Linked DNA regions of Homo sapiens: all the other regions are linked to region 1. Evidence: promoter capture Hi-C in 16 types of primary human blood cells and fetal thymus (Javierre and others, 2016). All regions are on one chromosome and are shown on one strand. The core of a region is centred on a gene start or on the middle of the fragment in contact, and the rest is flanking DNA. Distances in the headings are between cores, read along the strand shown.

Region 1 (3,094 bases), core at 41-2,540:
CTGTACGCCAGCCCGGGTGAGAGAGGGAGACCCCGTCTCTAAAAATAAAATGTAAAATCACTGAAAAAATGAGTGTTCGGTGAAACAAGTGGGATTTTCTGGGCCAGCAAGTCTTCCAAACTGTATATGATGCATCCTGTCTCCATGTGTAATATATTTTAATGATAAATGTATTTTTAACAGTGGCGGTTGTGTATGTTTTTATGTCTTAAGAGATGGCAGTTCGCTGCAGCTGGATTTTGTGGCTCAAGCCTTGGGGCCAAAGAGACATATTCCTGGCAGTCTGGTGGGTACCAGTCACTATTCACATACTTCCAGCAAGAAATGGTTATGGCACTGACCTGAACCCCTTGACCCCTGGTCTGGTCTTTGGAGTTGTCCCACTCTGAATATTCGAGAGAAGCAGCTTATGGTTAAAACAGGCAGTGGCAGCTGGGAGGATCTAACAGCTAGATCCTCCAGGCATTTGGAAAGGACAGGGGCATAACGAAGGCAGAATCGCTTCCTGGGTACGAATGCCCACTACTTCTGGGCACTGTGAAATGGGTTTAAGACGCGGGCCAGCAGGACAATGTGAACGGTGAAAGGAAGGGAGTGGCCGGTAGGTGGCGCTAACTGGCCCGGGCATGAGTCCCGCCGTAGCCGCGTCCTCTTGCAGGGGAAGAAAGTTGGGACCGCCAGCCTGGGCAAGCGCGTGAGAAGGGAGCTGGGGGTCCTAGGCAAGCGCGTGAGAAGGGGAAGAGGCGGCGGCGTCCTCTCCAGCTGGGCTTAGAATACTCTTAGTTCTGCCTTTGGGGTCTTGTCTTCCTTTCTGGGCCTCCTGCCTGTGTTAACTTTGATGGGTGCTGAAGGGAAGGCCGGGGTCCCGGCAGGAGAAACCCGGGAACGTCGCGGCCGTCCAGGCTCCCCTGGCGGGTTGGAGCCAGGGTTCTGACTGCCAACTGTGGTCCTTCCCGCTGCGGCTGTGGCTGCCAGGGCGAGGGCGGTCAGCGCAAACCTGGCTGAGGACATTTCGGATTCTTCCTTGGGGATTCGTTCCCTTCTCCTTGACTCCGGTGCCGCGAGGGCGACACCCTCCGGGCCCCGCGTGGCCACCCCGGGCGCTTCCCCACGCGGATGAACCCACCTCCTGGGCGCCTTCCCCTCGGTGCCCCGCTCGCCAATTGGAGGCTGCAGCTCAGCCCCCTGACAACCTGAGCCAACCAGAGGCGCCAGGGAGGGGCGGATCCTCTGTCCCCACCTTCCTCCGGAAAGAGGAAGCGGAAGTGACGTTAGGGGAAGGTGGGGGCAATCATGGTGCCGCTGGGGAGGGGAGAAGCTGCTGCTGCCGCCGTTGCCGGGAGCCGCGGAGGTAAAAGGCGAAACTAGACTCGGCCTGGGCTTGGGACTTACCGGGAGGCGCGGGACTTAGGCTCCCTCCTGAAGCATTTCCCAATAGAGACCTCAGTTTGGTCACCATAGGGACCCCACCCCTTCTCCGTTTCCATGGGGATGGGTATCCAGCCCCCCTTCCCTGTTTCCATGGAGACCCGGACCCTGCCCCTCTCCTCCTTGCTTGGAGACCCCCAGCTTGTCTTCGGATTTTTCTGTGTAGCCCTGTGCTGGGGGCTATCCCAGACAGGTTCCTTTTCCCAGCCTCCTCTCAAGGGGGCTCTGTTCGCACTCCTCGTTGGCTACCCTCAAACCTCCTGGTCTTGTTTGTTTCGGACAGTTGGTCTCCGCGTTGCCGCCGAGGGTGCCGGGGCAGCCCACTGGGGCCCTCGGTGCTCTTCTCTCTCTGCTCAGATGCAGCGAAATGTACATCTGTGGGGTTGCGTAAGCCAGAGCTAGGGGTCGGGCCGGTACCTCCCGGATCCAATCCTTTGGCCTGTCTCTGGTAACTGTCTAGCCATCCCACTAAGTAAAGGCTCACTTTCTAACCCAGAGCAGAAGAGAAAGATAAAGCGCAAAGCCAGACTGAAAACTAAAAGGGATGTGCTGATTATTTTAAAATTCTCTATTCTGCCTGCCAAACCCACATTTGTAGAGCCTGTGTTTGCAGATGAAGGAAGAATCACTATTCCAGAACATGAAAGCTTCAAATGTGGTATTTTTCTCAAGAGAATGTATCTTCCCAAGATAGTATATCTTCACGAGAGAGTAGGTAGCCATGTCTTTCAGTCATTTAGCTGACATTTCCTGAACTCTTATCATAGTATCAGTGTACTATGCTAGGAGCTGTAGAAACAAAAATAATAAGACTCAATTGATTCAGGGACGAGAGCCCACCACAGAACCATAACTTCTTGTTGACACCATATTGTTTTAGGACATAAATAGATACAGTGATCTTCGTTGTTTGTGCCTGATTGAGGAATAGCCCTTCCACCCAGAAGGTTGAAACATCTGTTCTAGGTAGGGGGGAAGGAATTCATACTTGTTCCTCTACTATTTACCAAACATTGTGCTTTACATATGTTGCCTCTTTTATTTCTTATAAAAACTTTGAGAGAACAGGAATTACTGGTCCCACCTTGCACGTAAGAAAAATGAGGCACAGAAAAGTTACCCATGTAGTAAAAGGCAAAGACAGGATTTGTAGGTAGATGACTCTGCCTCCAAAGCCTTGCTCCTTCTACCATAAACTGCATGAAACCATTTACTGCCTCGTGGTCTGATTTGGAGGATATTTGAATGGATGGAGTTTCCCTTAAGATTTGTAGCAACTCAGCCTTTCAGCAGCTGCTGTTCTGTTTGCTCTTTTGTCCCCTTTAAATATTTTGACCAAGTTTCAAATTGTTTGACAGGCGTATTCAGAAGGTCTTATGAACTTATTCAGTTTTTGAAAAGCATTGCTTTTCTTTCTTTTTCTTTTTTTTTTTTTTTTATTAGAGATGGGGGTCTCACTATGTTGACCAGGCTGATCTCAAACTCCTGGCCTCAAGCGATCCTCCCATCTTAGCCTCCCAAAGTGTTGGGATTACAGGTGTGAGCCACCACGCCCAGTCGGCATTGCTTTTCTTTAAAAATGACTTGATGGTTTTAAAGTTAAAATAAAAAAATTATTCCCAAGGATGGTTTTTCATTTGCTTTGGCTTGCTCTTTAAGTGAGAGG
Region 2 (3,094 bases), core at 271-2,770, 180 kb after region 1:
ATTCTGATTACAAAAAATGAAAATGTTACATAGAAATGTACCGTTATCCATCTACCAGATAACTATTATTAATAATGTGTATTTATTTTTCCAGGAATTAAAAAACATCTATCATATAAGTATTGCAAATAAAACTTAAAAAGCATTTAAGTGTCAAGTCTTATGTTGGGCTCTGGGGACAGAAATAAAAGAGAGCCCTAGAAAGGCTCACAGTTCCACCAGGGAAAGATTAATGTGCAAATAAGTCACTGATATCTTGTTAAAATTTGGATTCTGATTCTGTAGGTCTGGGATGGGGCCCAGATTCTGCATTTCAAACGAAGTCTCAGCTAATGGTCCAAGGACCAGACTTTGGATTGCAGAGACTTAAGTTGTAATACAATAATAAAAGTGTTATAGTTAAGGTAAAAACAGGTGCTGTGGGAGAATAGAGATGATAACTAATTGCCTGTGGAACTCCTTCTTGATGACAGTGACATTTGAGGTAGGCCTTGAAGGGAATTTTACCTGGGGCTAGGAGAGGGGTGCGGGGCATTCCATGCACAGGGGATAATCTAAACAAAGGCCATGTTTGAGGCAGGATGGAAGCCAACACTTGACGAAAGCTAGCTGTGTGCCAGGCATTGTGCTTGTTGCCTTTACCCTCCACAACTGGCAAATAATAGTTCAGTATCACAAATAACAAGTTCACAGATGGATAGAAGGATGGCAGGAAGTGGGTCAGTAAGGGTGGACTGGAACCAAATTGTGAAGAGGATTATGAGTCCCAGCTCAAGCGTTTGTATTTTGCTCTACAAGTGGGAGATGCTCGCTTATGTGTATGCATGTGTAATAAAGAGGTTTTTAAACCTCCCTCATAGAAGCAAGTAATGGCTAAGTAGAAACAAGCACGTTTATGGTGCTCAGTAATAACTATATAGTATTTAAGTATTGTTTTTATTTTGTTCCCTCTTAGCTTTGTGTCTGTTAAAATGCCATATTTTTCATTGTTCTTTTTAAATTTAAAATAAAATTTATTTTTTTGAGACAGAGTCTCACTCCCACCCAGGCTGGAGTGCAGAGGCACAATCTCAGCTCACTGCAACCTCTGCCTCCCAAGTTCAAGCGATTCTCCTGCCTCAGCCTCCAGAGTAGCTGGGATTACAGGTGCTTACCACCATGCCTGCCTAATTTTTGTATTTTTAATAGAGACAAGGTCTCGCCATGTTGGCCAAGCTGGTCTCCAAATCCTGACCTCAAGTGATCTGCCTGCCTCGGCCTCCCAAAGTGCTGGGATTACAGGCATGAGCCACCACACCAAGCCTGATTTATTTTTTAAGTGATATATCAATATTGTAAAATAGGTATGCAAGAGCATATTTAGGCTGGGCACAATGGCTCTTGCCTGTACGAGCACTTTGGGAGGCCAAGGTGGGAGGATGGCTTGAGGTCAGGAGTTTAGACTAGCCAGACAACCCTGTCTTTATGAAAAAAAGAGCCAGGTGTGGTGGTGTGTGCCTGTAGTCCTAGCTATCTGCGAGGCTGAGGTGGGAGTTTCCCAATTCCCTTCCCTGAAGGCAACCAATATTGAATGTTTCTAGTGTATCTTTCCAAAAATACTATGCCTGTGTGAGTGTGGTGGGTAGGTATCCTCAAAGACAGCCCCCAGTGCTCCCACCTCTGGTATTCTTGCCCTTGTGTACTCCCCTCTCCTTCCAGATGGGCTGGACTGACAGATATACTTCTTTTTTTTTTTTTTTTTGAGACAGAGTCTCGCTCTGTCACCAGGCTGGAGTGCAGTGGCGTGATCTTGGCTCACTGCAATCTCCACCTCCCGGCTTCAAGCGATTCTCCTGCCTCAGCCTCCCGAGTAGCTGGGACTACAGACATGTGCCACCACGCTCAGCTAATTTTTGTATTTTTTAGTTAGAGACAGGGTTTCACCATGTTGGCCAAGATGGTCTCGATCTCTTGACCTTGTGATCTGCCCCCCTTGGTCTCCCAAAGTGCTGGGATTACAGGCGTGAGCCACCGCGCCCGGCCACAGATATACTTCTGATGAATAAAATACTACCCAAGTGGTAGGATGTCACTTCTGAAATAGGTAAAAAAGACTGCAGCTTCCATCTTGGGTGCTCTCTCTCTCTCTCTCTCTGGGATCACCCACCCTGGGGAAAGGCAGCTGCGATGCTGTGAGGCAGCCATGTGGAGAGGCTCATGTGAGAGACCAATGCCTGCCAACAACCATGTGACTGAACTTGGAAACAGATCCTCCCTCCCACAGTTGAACCTTCTGATGGGTCCACAGCCCCTGCTGACAGCTTGACTACAGCCTCTTGAAGACCCGACCCAAAGGCAGCCAGCTAAGCAGTGCCCGGATTCCTGATCCATGTAAACTGGGATAATAAATGTTTTAAATCACTAAGTTTGGGGGCCATTTGTTCCACAGCGATAGATAATCACTACAACAAAAAAACCTCCCTTCATTTTTATATAAATGCTAACATACCATATACCCACTTTTGCACCTTGTTCTTTCTTACCGTATCTTGGAGTTCATTCTATATAAAGAGCTTCCTTACATTGTTTTAAACAGTTGCATAGATTTCTGTTGTGTGGGTAAACCATAATTTACTTAAAATAGCTCCTTAGGGTGGACATTTGTTTCCAAAGTCTTAATACCTATTGGTTTTTATAGTAGCAACCCGCCTGTACTCCCACTCTTGTTCATTAGGCCTCCCCTCCACCACCTGGAATTTTCCATTTAGCTAACCCCATCACCTTCCAACAACAAAAAATAAATTGTCAGTATTTTTTACTAGAATCACTAAATTGATAAACGAATTCAGGGAGAGTCACCACACTGGGAATACTTCTGGTGCTCCTCCTTTATGTATGCCACTGGCTTATGGATGAAGACACCAATGTGAGTTCTGTTCTGTTTTCCCTCAGCTGGGTCAGAACCCCTTTCTCTGTCAGTGTAAGACAGTCTTGGGATGAAATGAAGAATTTTGGTTTCCCTCTATCCTGTCCCTCCCCATCCACATCTAGAAACTGACCTTCAGATTCTTCTCTCAGAGTAAGTGTTGTCTCAAGGTGCTGGGGTGCCTGGGCC
Region 3 (3,094 bases), core at 332-2,831, 160 kb after region 1:
ATGCCAAATTGTTTCCCAAAGTGGTTACCCTTGACTACAGCCCATCTGCAAACAATACAAGTTCCTAATGATCTACATCCTCTACAACACTTGGTGGTGTGTCAAGCTTACCATTTTTTCGATAAATCTACAGGGTCTCAATAAGGTTTTCTATGATGATCCTGGGTCCTTCAAAAAGGCTTCCAGTCACCATTCAAATTCGTTTTTTTTTCATATGGTAATAAGTATGGGCACTACAAAGAGCAGTCATGATTCACAGTCCTTTCCTTATAGAACACATGTAAACATCAGAATAATTACTACAGGTTTGGAATGGCACAGGTTTCATTTCTGGTAGGGACTGCTTGACATACTCAGAGAAGGATTCTGAGGCTGTCTTAGGCTTAGCAAGAAATAGGGCTGTAATAAGTTACTGATGTTTGCCAGGCTTGATGCAACAGAAAGTAGGGGCATTCCTGCCAACCTTCTGCCATCTCTAGAAACAACTGGCATTTTATGGAGTCATCAGTGGTGGCAGGCCACTGGGCATCTACTGTGCAGGACAGTTAACAGAGCAGGCCTGAGACTGATACACATAGAAAGGCCTGTTTGCAAGCCTGGCCTCGGTTGGCATCTGGGAACTTGATTTCAGAAAGATTCCCACCTTTCCTTAACAAGATGCCTCACTGTGCCTAAACTTTATGCAAACAATATGGCTCATGCTGAACACCTACTTCCCTCCTGAAAGTCTAGGATTTTGACATGTGCTAGGCAGAGGATGCCTATGTGAGCAGCCCCCAGTTAAAACTCTGGGCATTGACTCTCTAATCAGATTTTCTGGTAGACAGCATTTCATATGTGTTGAATTAAGCATGTTCTGTTTGACTCTACAGGGAGTGGACTCCTAGAAGCCTGGTTTCCTCTGGACTTTGTCCTATGCAATTTTCTCCTTTGTTGATTAATGCTTTGTATACTTTCACTGTAATAAATCATCGCCATGGGTGTGACTGTATGCTGAGCCCCATGAATCCTCCTAGTGAATCACCAAACCTGGAGGTGGTCTTGGGAGCCCCAACACACTTCCCAACTAAGAGCTTTTATAGATTTTCTATCGTTCCTTTCTGGAGTTTTAAATCATATTAGTCAAGGCTAGAATTCTCTCAACTTGGTGTGGTAACAATGGCTCTCTCATATTACATTAGAAGTTCTCATTTGCAGTTCTGTATTTCTAATTTAAAAAGAGAGAACTGCATTAGCTAGTAAGCATAATTCATCTCAGAGGTAACTCTTTTAAAACATTGGAGCTCAGTGTATGTAGGGGGGTGAATAATCCCCACCTCTCTCCCAAATGCTCCAATTTTTTCCAAATTGATAATTGGCTCCTCATTACCTTTACCTTCTGAATGAAGCTGGCGGAGATCTGCTATGTGCCCTTGGTGGTCAGACTCCTTCAAACCCTGATATTCCAAATGATTCTGATCAACTCAACAAAAGATGTAATTTTGGGGTTTACTTTGTAAATCTGATCAAGGCTACAATAAACTAACAGAAAGATACACAAATGCGTGCATACACACGCATTGTTTGTATATTATTTTAGAGTGCCTAGGGACTCTGTGAAGCCCATGTATGGACTAGTTCCCAATGCTGTCTCATAAAACTTTCTGCAAGAGTAGCAATGTTCTATTTCTGTGCTCTCTGATGGAGTAGCTACTAGTCATATGTAGGTATTGAACATGTAAAATGTGGCTAGTATGTCTGAGGAAATGAATTCTTTAATTTTATTAATTGTAATTAACTGAAATAGCTACATATGCCCAGTGGCTACTACACTGGACAGTGCAGCTTTAAATGCTCTATTTTGCATCCCCATCTTACTGCCTTCAATCCTGGCACTGATGCTGGGAGGAAGGAGATGAGAGGGGTTGGGGAATACTGAGCATCCCAAGCAAAAGCACTGCTTCTACAGTACGACATGATGAAACACCTTTATCATCTAGCAGGCCAATGCATAGTGTAATGACTCAGGCGCTTAAAGGAACTTGGGCTTGAGGCTTTCTACTTCCGCTGTAGAGTTCAGAACAAAGGACTGCAAGAAATTGGTCAAAAACAGAACTGCCACCTTCTGTAGGGCTCAGAACTATCTGGGTCTCATGTATACAGTGTCTGGTCCAACTCTAATTTTTCAGTTGACACAAACAGATGATGTCCCTTTATGAAACCTCTTCCACAGTAAGCATCTATTAGTTGGATCTGGGGACTGGACTAGACTTAAGTAACCACTGGCTGGAAAATAGGAAAGGTCACTTACTGTTGCCGCCTCTTCCAGGGCCTGTTTGTTTCCTCCAAGGGCTTTAAAAAGAACGTTGTAGTTACTATTACATTTTAACAATAAATCATCTTGCCTAATAGTACCATTTATCTTTCTAAAACTGGTCCAGCCCTTGGTCTAACCTTCAAGGACCTTCACCATCTAATCTATTCTTTCTCCAAGTTATATCCCAAATGTGCCACTGACTCTCATGACTTGTTGCCATGGTACTTTGTATTTCCTCTGCCTGAAATTCACCTCCGTACTTAACAAATTTCTAACTCATCCTTCAAAACTCAGCTCAAACATCACCCCAAAAATTCTGCTTATTTTTCTTTTTAAAAAATATATTTTAAATTTTATTTATTTTTGAGACAGAGTCTTGCTCTGTCACCCAAGCTGGAGTGGAGTGGCGCCTCCTTGGCTGTCTCCTGGGCTCAACTGATCCTCCCACCTTGGCCTCCCAAGTAGCTGGGACTACAGGCATGCGCCACCACATTCGGCTAATTTTTGTGTTTTTTTGTAGAGATAGGGTTTCGCCAAGTTGTCCAGGTTGTCTTTTTTTTTTTTTTTTTTTTTTTTAAGTAGAGATGTGGTCTCCTGCTATGTTGCCCAGGCTGGTTTTGAACTCCTGGGGTCAAGTGATACTCCTGCCTTGGCCTCCCAAAGTGCTAGGATTATAGGCATGAATCCCCACCCTATGCCCTGCCCTCTGCTTATTTTTCTTTTTTAAAAATTTATTTTTAATTATTTTTTTTAAAGCTTAAAGATATGGTCTTGTTATGTTGCCCAGGCTGGTCTCAA
Region 4 (3,094 bases), core at 151-2,650, 160 kb before region 1:
CAGAAAAATGAGGCCCAGAGAAGAAGTGGTCCAAGGACACACAGCTCACCTGGAGCAGAGTCAGGACCGTCCCCCTCTCACAAATCCCAGGAATCTTTCCACTACTACACTAAGCTGCTTCAACCTTTGTGTGAGTGCCACAGTCACCTGAGATGATGGCAGGAATGAATCAGTGTTGGAAACCCTATACAAAGTGAATGGAGAGCAACAGAAGAGTCGGCAACAGAAGGGTCCCCAGGCAGTGTGCTGGTGCCTGAAAATCTTACCACTCAGAAAGCAGAAGAATTTTTTCAGCAGAAGCTCACCTGAGAATTCTCACTGCTAATGACTCCTCAAAGATCAGTGGGGTCCTTACATTTTGGGGAATCATCAACCTCAGAGAAACTGATGAAAGCTTTGGGATCTTTCTTCTTTTTTTTTTTTTTCTGAGGCGGAGTCTTGCTCTGTCGCCCAGGCTGGAGTGCAGTGGCACTATCTCGGCTCGCTACAACCTCCGCCTCCTGGGTTCAAGCAATTCTGCTGCCTCAGCCTCCCTAGTAGCTGGGATTACAGGTGCCCGCCACCACGCCTGGCTAATTTTTGTATTTTTAGTAGAGACAGGGTTTCACTACATTGGCCAGGCTAGTCTCGAACTCCTGACCTCAAGTGATCCACCTGCCTTGGCCTCCCAAATTGCTGGGACTACAGGCATGAGCCACCACGCCCAGCATGGGATGTTTCTTGAGATAAATGTACATACACATTTGTAAAAGGTTGTGCAAGCACATATACCTATCTGCACAAAATACCAGTGAGAAAGGGGGGTTTTCTCAGACCTCCTAAAGCTCACTCATGGGTTGTCTACCCACTCGAAGTTACAGACAAAATATCCTTGCAATCCACCCACCAGCAGTCTCTTAATAAAAATGATTTTGCAGTAAACAAAATAGAAAGAAACATAATTACTAGACAAAAATGGCAAAAATCTAAACCTCCCTAACTTCTCAAAAGCTATGCTGGTGAACTATTCTACATGGGAATTTGGAATACTAATCTCTTTAGGGACTACCACAATTCTTGAGAAGCGTCAGTGACACGGCTAATTGAAAGTACACCTAATTGCCGGGCGCGGTAGCTCACGCCTGTAATCCCTGCACTTTGGGAGGCTGAGGTGGGTGGATCACAAGGTCAGGAGTTCAAGACCAGCCTAGCCAAAATGGTGAAACCCTGTCTCTACTAAATATACAAAAAATTAGCCAGGCGTGGTGGCGGGCACCTGTAATCCCAGCTACTCGGGAGGCTGAGGCAAGAGAATTGCTTGAACCCAGGAGGCAGAGGTTGCAGTGAGCCGATATCACGCCACCGCACTCCAGCCTGGGTGACAGAGTGAGACTCCGTCTCAAAAAAAAAAAAAAGTACACCTAATTGACAAACAACAGGGTTATCACAAGAACACTCATGAGCAAGCTCTTTGGCTGGAAGTGTTATCTACAGAAGGAAATATTACTGGGCCTTAGACTTCAACAATTCACAGATTCTAGCACAGTCTCACAGCAGTGGTTTCAGACAGCTTTTGTTTTCGCTTTATTGCACAGACTGTCAGATTTATGGGATTACCCAATATAGTCAAACTAATTAGGGGTATTTATATTACTAAAGCAAGTTTAGCTGCCTCTGAGCTAGAGAAAACTGCTGTGAAATTAAACATTGGAAGCAAAACTGATGCAGTGTAAATGATTCAAATCAAAACAGAACAGCTGTCTGCTTGAAACACATTGACAGCATTTTTTTTTAATGAATCAGTCAGAAGAGTTCAACTCCAGAAGGCTTTCAGGAAAAGCATGTCTTCTGCACAACCCAGTTACAGTGACGGAAAGCACCATAAGGAAAAGCCAAAACAAAATTTTTGTTACAATACACAATATGAAAGACCTTTTGGGCAGGCATGGTGGCTCACGCCTGTAATCCCAACACTTCAGGAGGCCAAGGCGGGAGTAAACACTTGAGCTCAGGAGTTTAAGACCAGCCTGGGCAACTTAGCGAGACCCCGTTTCTACAAAAAAAATTTAAAATTAGCTAGGCATGGTGGCACACACCTGTGGTCCCAGCTACCCAGGAGGCTGAGGCAGGAGGATCGCTTAAGCCCAGAAGGTGGAGACTGCAGTGAGCCATAATCACACCATTGCACTCCAGCCTGGGTGACAGTGAGACCCTGTCTCAAGAAAAATAAAAACACAGAAAGACCTTTTGATGTGCGTATTCACTGCTAAAGGTTCAATATTAAAGTATTGCAAATCCTTTAATCTTCAGCAATCCCTTTCTCTGCATTTTCAAAACACTGGCATCTGTTACAAGTATTAAAAGCACAAAGCGCAGGGTCAGAATTGGGATTCAAACCCAGGTCTAAAGGCCAGAACCTAAGCTTCTGACCACTATACCTCCTCCGATCATAGAAATTAGGAAGCCCTTCTCCACTTCCATCCCATCATCAAATCATCCTACAAATCCACTTTTCTAAGGGAACTCATGAGTTTTCCATAAATAAATAATTATTTTAGGCCAGGCACAGTGGCTCACGCTTGTAATCCCGACACTTTGGGAGGCCAAGGCAGGCAGATCAACTGAGGTCAGGAGTTCAAGACCAGCCTGGCCAACATGGCGAAACCCCATCTCTATGAAAAATACAGAAATAAGCTGGGTGTGGTGTTGCACCCCTATAGTCCCAGTTACTGGGGAGGCTGAGGCATGAGAATTGCTTGAACCCAGGAGGCGGAGGTTGCAGTGAGCCGAGATCGTGCCACTGCACTCCAGCCTGGGAGACAGTGAGACTCTGACTAAAAAATAAAATAAAATAAATTTTAAAAATTATTTTAAATGCAGTAGCAAAAAAAAAAAAACAAAAAAAAAACACCTAGATTCCCCTAAGCTCACATGTGAAGAACAACAGAGAAAATTACCTTAAGTCCAGTCTGATTGGTAACTCCTTTCACTTTTTCTTTCTGCAAGGTCTCTATCCTGGGCCTATTAAAGACTCTGTCGACTAGCTCCGGGGCTGTTTGCAGGTGAGTTGCGACATCAAACTGTTCAACTAAAATTCAAGACAATCCTTAAGGCA
Region 5 (3,094 bases), core at 408-2,907, 140 kb before region 1:
CTCCAGCAGCAGCTCTCAGGGCTCCCCCTTGTCCTACTCCCCACCCAAGATGGGGCCTGATTGGGGAGAAAATGTCTTCAGTGGCTCTTGCTCTCTCTCCTTTCAGCTCCCTAGTCCCAAACCCTGAGAAATCGGAAAAGGTGGGAGAGACCTTCTCTCCCAGAGGCAGTAGGAGGGAAATCATGACCCCAGGGGATGGAAAGATCCTGGGGTTTTGCCAGATGTTAGCAGGAGGTGGCAGGGGGTACACTGCACTCCCAGTCTGTCTCCAGTTCCCCTCTGCCTCCCCCGACACTTCATTTTCCTTTTTTCTCCCCATTGCTGGCAAAACCTGACATCTGGCCATCTGTGCCGCCACAGCTGCTGCAGATGTTACAGGCCAAGGCTGTCCAAGCTGGTGTGACACAGCGGGGGTGGGGGGATGAGGGCAGAGGGTCTAGCTAGGGAAGACTGGCTGTGTCCAGCTTGCAGGATTTCCTTCCTGCTTGAACCTAAGCTGAGCCTCTGAAGTTCCCATTGCTTGGCTGATTCCCCGGGAGGGAAGGCCCAACCTCTCACACTGGCCTCTTCTACCATTCATTAGTCCAGCACCTCTCTAGCATTCCACTGTTTTCTGGATCAGGAGGGGCAGGCACAGCCCATTCCCGTCTCTAAGTTCTGTACTCCAGAGCTCTGGTTAAGGGTTCCTTTATCCATATTCCTAAAGTCCCTTCCTGGGAGTCAGGAGAGGGTGGGAGTACTGCTCATAAGGAGTAGAGTGGGGTGGCTCCCTGCCCCTGCTTCTCCCACGCTGGGGACAGTCGGGACAGTGGAGGCTAGACGCTGGCTGGGACAGGAAATGAGTCACTGACCCAGGAAAAGCCCCCTCCCCCTAGATCTGCTAGGGCCTAGATAAGAAAACAACTTCTGCTTCCTGGTTTTTTTCCTGACCTCTTCCTACCCCGAGTTAAATACAGAAAGAAACATGTGGGATTCCTGGTTTCCCAGAAGCACCCCTTCCCCATCCCCACCTACTCTGAACTGGCATTTCCTATGCCGGGTCTCTTGGCTGTGTTTTGAATGCAGAGGCCTCTTTGCCAGGAGCCAAGCCACAGCCTCTCTGTGTGACCCCAGTTCCACCTTGTGCTCCTAACAGGGTTCTCTCCCCTTGCCACCATGAGCGAGTCATTTGACTGTGCAAAATGCAACGAGTCCCTGTATGGACGCAAGTACATCCAGACAGACAGCGGCCCCTACTGTGTGCCCTGCTATGACAATACCTTTGCCAACACCTGTGCTGAGTGCCAGCAGCTTATCGGGCATGACTCGAGGGTAAGGAGAGGGCCAGGCCAGGCAGGAGGTGGGTGGTGACCAGTGGAAGGGGGCAAAGGATGGGTCCATGAGGCCTGGGTGCCAGTGCCCCTGCTGTGTTCCCCACAGGAGCTGTTCTATGAAGACCGCCATTTCCACGAGGGCTGCTTCCGCTGCTGCCGCTGCCAGCGCTCACTAGCCGATGAACCCTTCACCTGCCAGGACAGTGAGCTGCTCTGCAATGACTGCTACTGCAGTGCGTTTTCCTCGCAGTGCTCCGCTTGTGGGGAGACTGTCATGCCTGGTATGTGTTCAGGGGCTCATCTTGTGTGAGAACTGGCATCTGCGTAGGGTCTTTGCATGTGTCTGTCTGATACATGGAGACTTGGTCTGTGTAAAGACCTGCATACACAGCATGTTTCTGGAAATTTAGTATATACGGGATCTGTTTGCCTGGTATACTCCTGGGGGCTACTATGTACAGGCAGATTGACACATGTGATACATACTTGGGGGCTTAGCATGTGTGAATATCTGCATGTTTAGTACAGGTAGGAACTAGAGGTGTGCTGAGACTGTCATGCTTGTTGCATTGGGTCTTAATGTATGCAGAAGCAGATAAACAGAGGGCTTAACATGTGTGGGGACCTGCATGCCTAATAGAAATGCTGGGACTCAGCACCTATGGAGAATGGTGTGCCGAGGAGATGCGAGGGCTTAGCATGTACCGAACCTGTCATGCCCAGGGCATTAGAACTTTGTGTGGGCAGATACTTACTTGCCTGGTACATGTGGGGTCCCATGTGAGTGCTAAAATCATCACATCTGTTATATGAGGGCTTAGCTCTTAGTGAGACTTCATGACTGTTACATGGAGGCTTGATGTGTGCTGAAATTGTCATCTCTGGGACATATGGGGGCTTAACATAGGCCAAAACCCTCGTGTCTAGCTGGGTCATCATGTCCGGTGTCTGGGGAGAGGTTAGCATGTGTAATATACATAGGGCGGGGGGGTTCTTGCTGCATGTGCACGGACACCACCCTGCTCACGCTGAGAGAGGAGTGGAGACTCCTGGGGAAGTTACAGAGGGTGGCCCTCAGGAGCATGGGACACAACCTCTAAATGGGACCCCTGTTCCCCACAGGGTCCCGGAAGCTGGAATATGGAGGCCAGACATGGCATGAGCACTGCTTCCTGTGCAGTGGCTGTGAACAGCCACTGGGCTCCCGTTCTTTTGTGCCCGACAAGGGTGCTCACTACTGCGTGCCCTGCTATGAGAACAAGTTTGCTCCTCGCTGCGCCCGCTGCAGCAAGGTGGGGGCTGGGCCAGCCAGGTGGGGGTGAGTGAGGCCTGTTGTGGGGTGGGAATCCCCACTCATACCTACTAATGGATGCTGCCCCCACAGACGCTGACACAGGGTGGAGTGACATACCGTGATCAGCCGTGGCATCGAGAATGTCTGGTCTGTACCGGATGCCAGACGCCCCTGGCAGGGCAGCAGTTCACCTCCCGGGATGAAGATCCCTACTGTGTGGCCTGTTTTGGAGAACTCTTTGCACCTAAGTGCAGCAGCTGCAAGCGCCCCATCGTAGGTGGGACAAGGGTCAAAGAACGGAGTGGGTAGGGTGCAGGCAAGGGAGTGGGATGTGGTATTGGGTGAGGTTGAGGGCCGGACCATCCCCACATCTGCATAGCTAACTTCCAGCCTCCCTCCAGGACTCGGTGGAGGCAAGTATGTGTCCTTTGAAGACCGACACTGGCACCACAACTGCTTCTCCTGCGCCCGCTGCTCTACCTCCCTG

What was found. Contacts are between HindIII fragments. The CHiCAGO score rates a contact against its expected background, and 5 or more counts as called.
Region 2: a fragment that was not itself captured here is called in contact with the fragment with the promoter of MTF1 in region 1 in 1 of 17 cell types (M2 macrophages); the score reaches 5.1 in M2 macrophages.
Region 3: a fragment that was not itself captured here is called in contact with the fragment with the promoter of MTF1 in region 1 in 10 of 17 cell types (M1 macrophages, M2 macrophages, fetal thymus and 7 more); the score reaches 8.6 in M1 macrophages.
Region 4: a contact is called between a fragment that was not itself captured here and the fragment with the promoter of MTF1 in region 1, in 1 of 17 cell types (fetal thymus). The highest score is 5.5, in fetal thymus.
Region 5: a contact is called between a fragment that was not itself captured here and the fragment with the promoter of MTF1 in region 1, in 2 of 17 cell types (fetal thymus and neutrophils). The highest score is 8.2, in fetal thymus.

What each region holds. Positions count from the first base shown.
Region 1 is chr1:37,857,788-37,860,881 of GRCh38, reverse strand. It overlaps MTF1 (metal regulatory transcription factor 1), which reads left to right and starts at 1,290. Exons shown (of 11, transcript NM_005955.3): 1 at 1,290-1,351. It overlaps INPP5B (inositol polyphosphate-5-phosphatase B), which reads left to right. Exons shown (of 24, transcript NM_005540.3): 24 at 1-185. RefSeq lists a silencer at 1,024-1,353. The HindIII fragment of the contact is 3,574 bases long and covers 1-2,077 here.
Region 2 is chr1:37,678,621-37,681,714 of GRCh38, reverse strand. It overlaps AIRIM (AFG2 interacting ribosome maturation factor), which reads left to right. Exons shown (of 5, transcript NM_001350770.2): 5 at 1-145. Among named protein-coding and RNA genes, the nearest start is that of AIRIM, 10 kb to the left of the region's middle. The HindIII fragment of the contact is 3,960 bases long and covers 1-3,094 here.
Region 3 is chr1:37,695,147-37,698,240 of GRCh38, reverse strand. CDCA8 (cell division cycle associated 8) reads right to left here. Exons shown (of 10, transcript NM_001256875.2): 3 at 2,291-2,331. Among named protein-coding and RNA genes, the nearest start is that of CDCA8, 4.2 kb to the right of the region's middle. The HindIII fragment of the contact is 2,946 bases long and covers 109-3,054 here.
Region 4 is chr1:38,019,226-38,022,319 of GRCh38, reverse strand. It overlaps UTP11 (UTP11 small subunit processome component), which reads right to left. Exons shown (of 8, transcript NM_016037.4): 6 at 2,937-3,067. Among named protein-coding and RNA genes, the nearest start is that of UTP11, 8.0 kb to the right of the region's middle. The HindIII fragment of the contact is 2,007 bases long and covers 397-2,403 here.
Region 5 is chr1:37,997,474-38,000,567 of GRCh38, reverse strand. It overlaps FHL3 (four and a half LIM domains 3), which reads left to right. Exons shown (of 6, transcript NM_004468.5): 2 at 1,136-1,311; 3 at 1,420-1,594; 4 at 2,436-2,605; 5 at 2,698-2,884; 6 at 3,009-3,094. The coding sequence starts at 1,156. Among named protein-coding and RNA genes, the nearest start is that of FHL3, 6.5 kb to the left of the region's middle. RefSeq lists enhancers at 1-281, 282-1,069, 2,159-3,080. The HindIII fragment of the contact is 9,250 bases long and covers 1-3,094 here.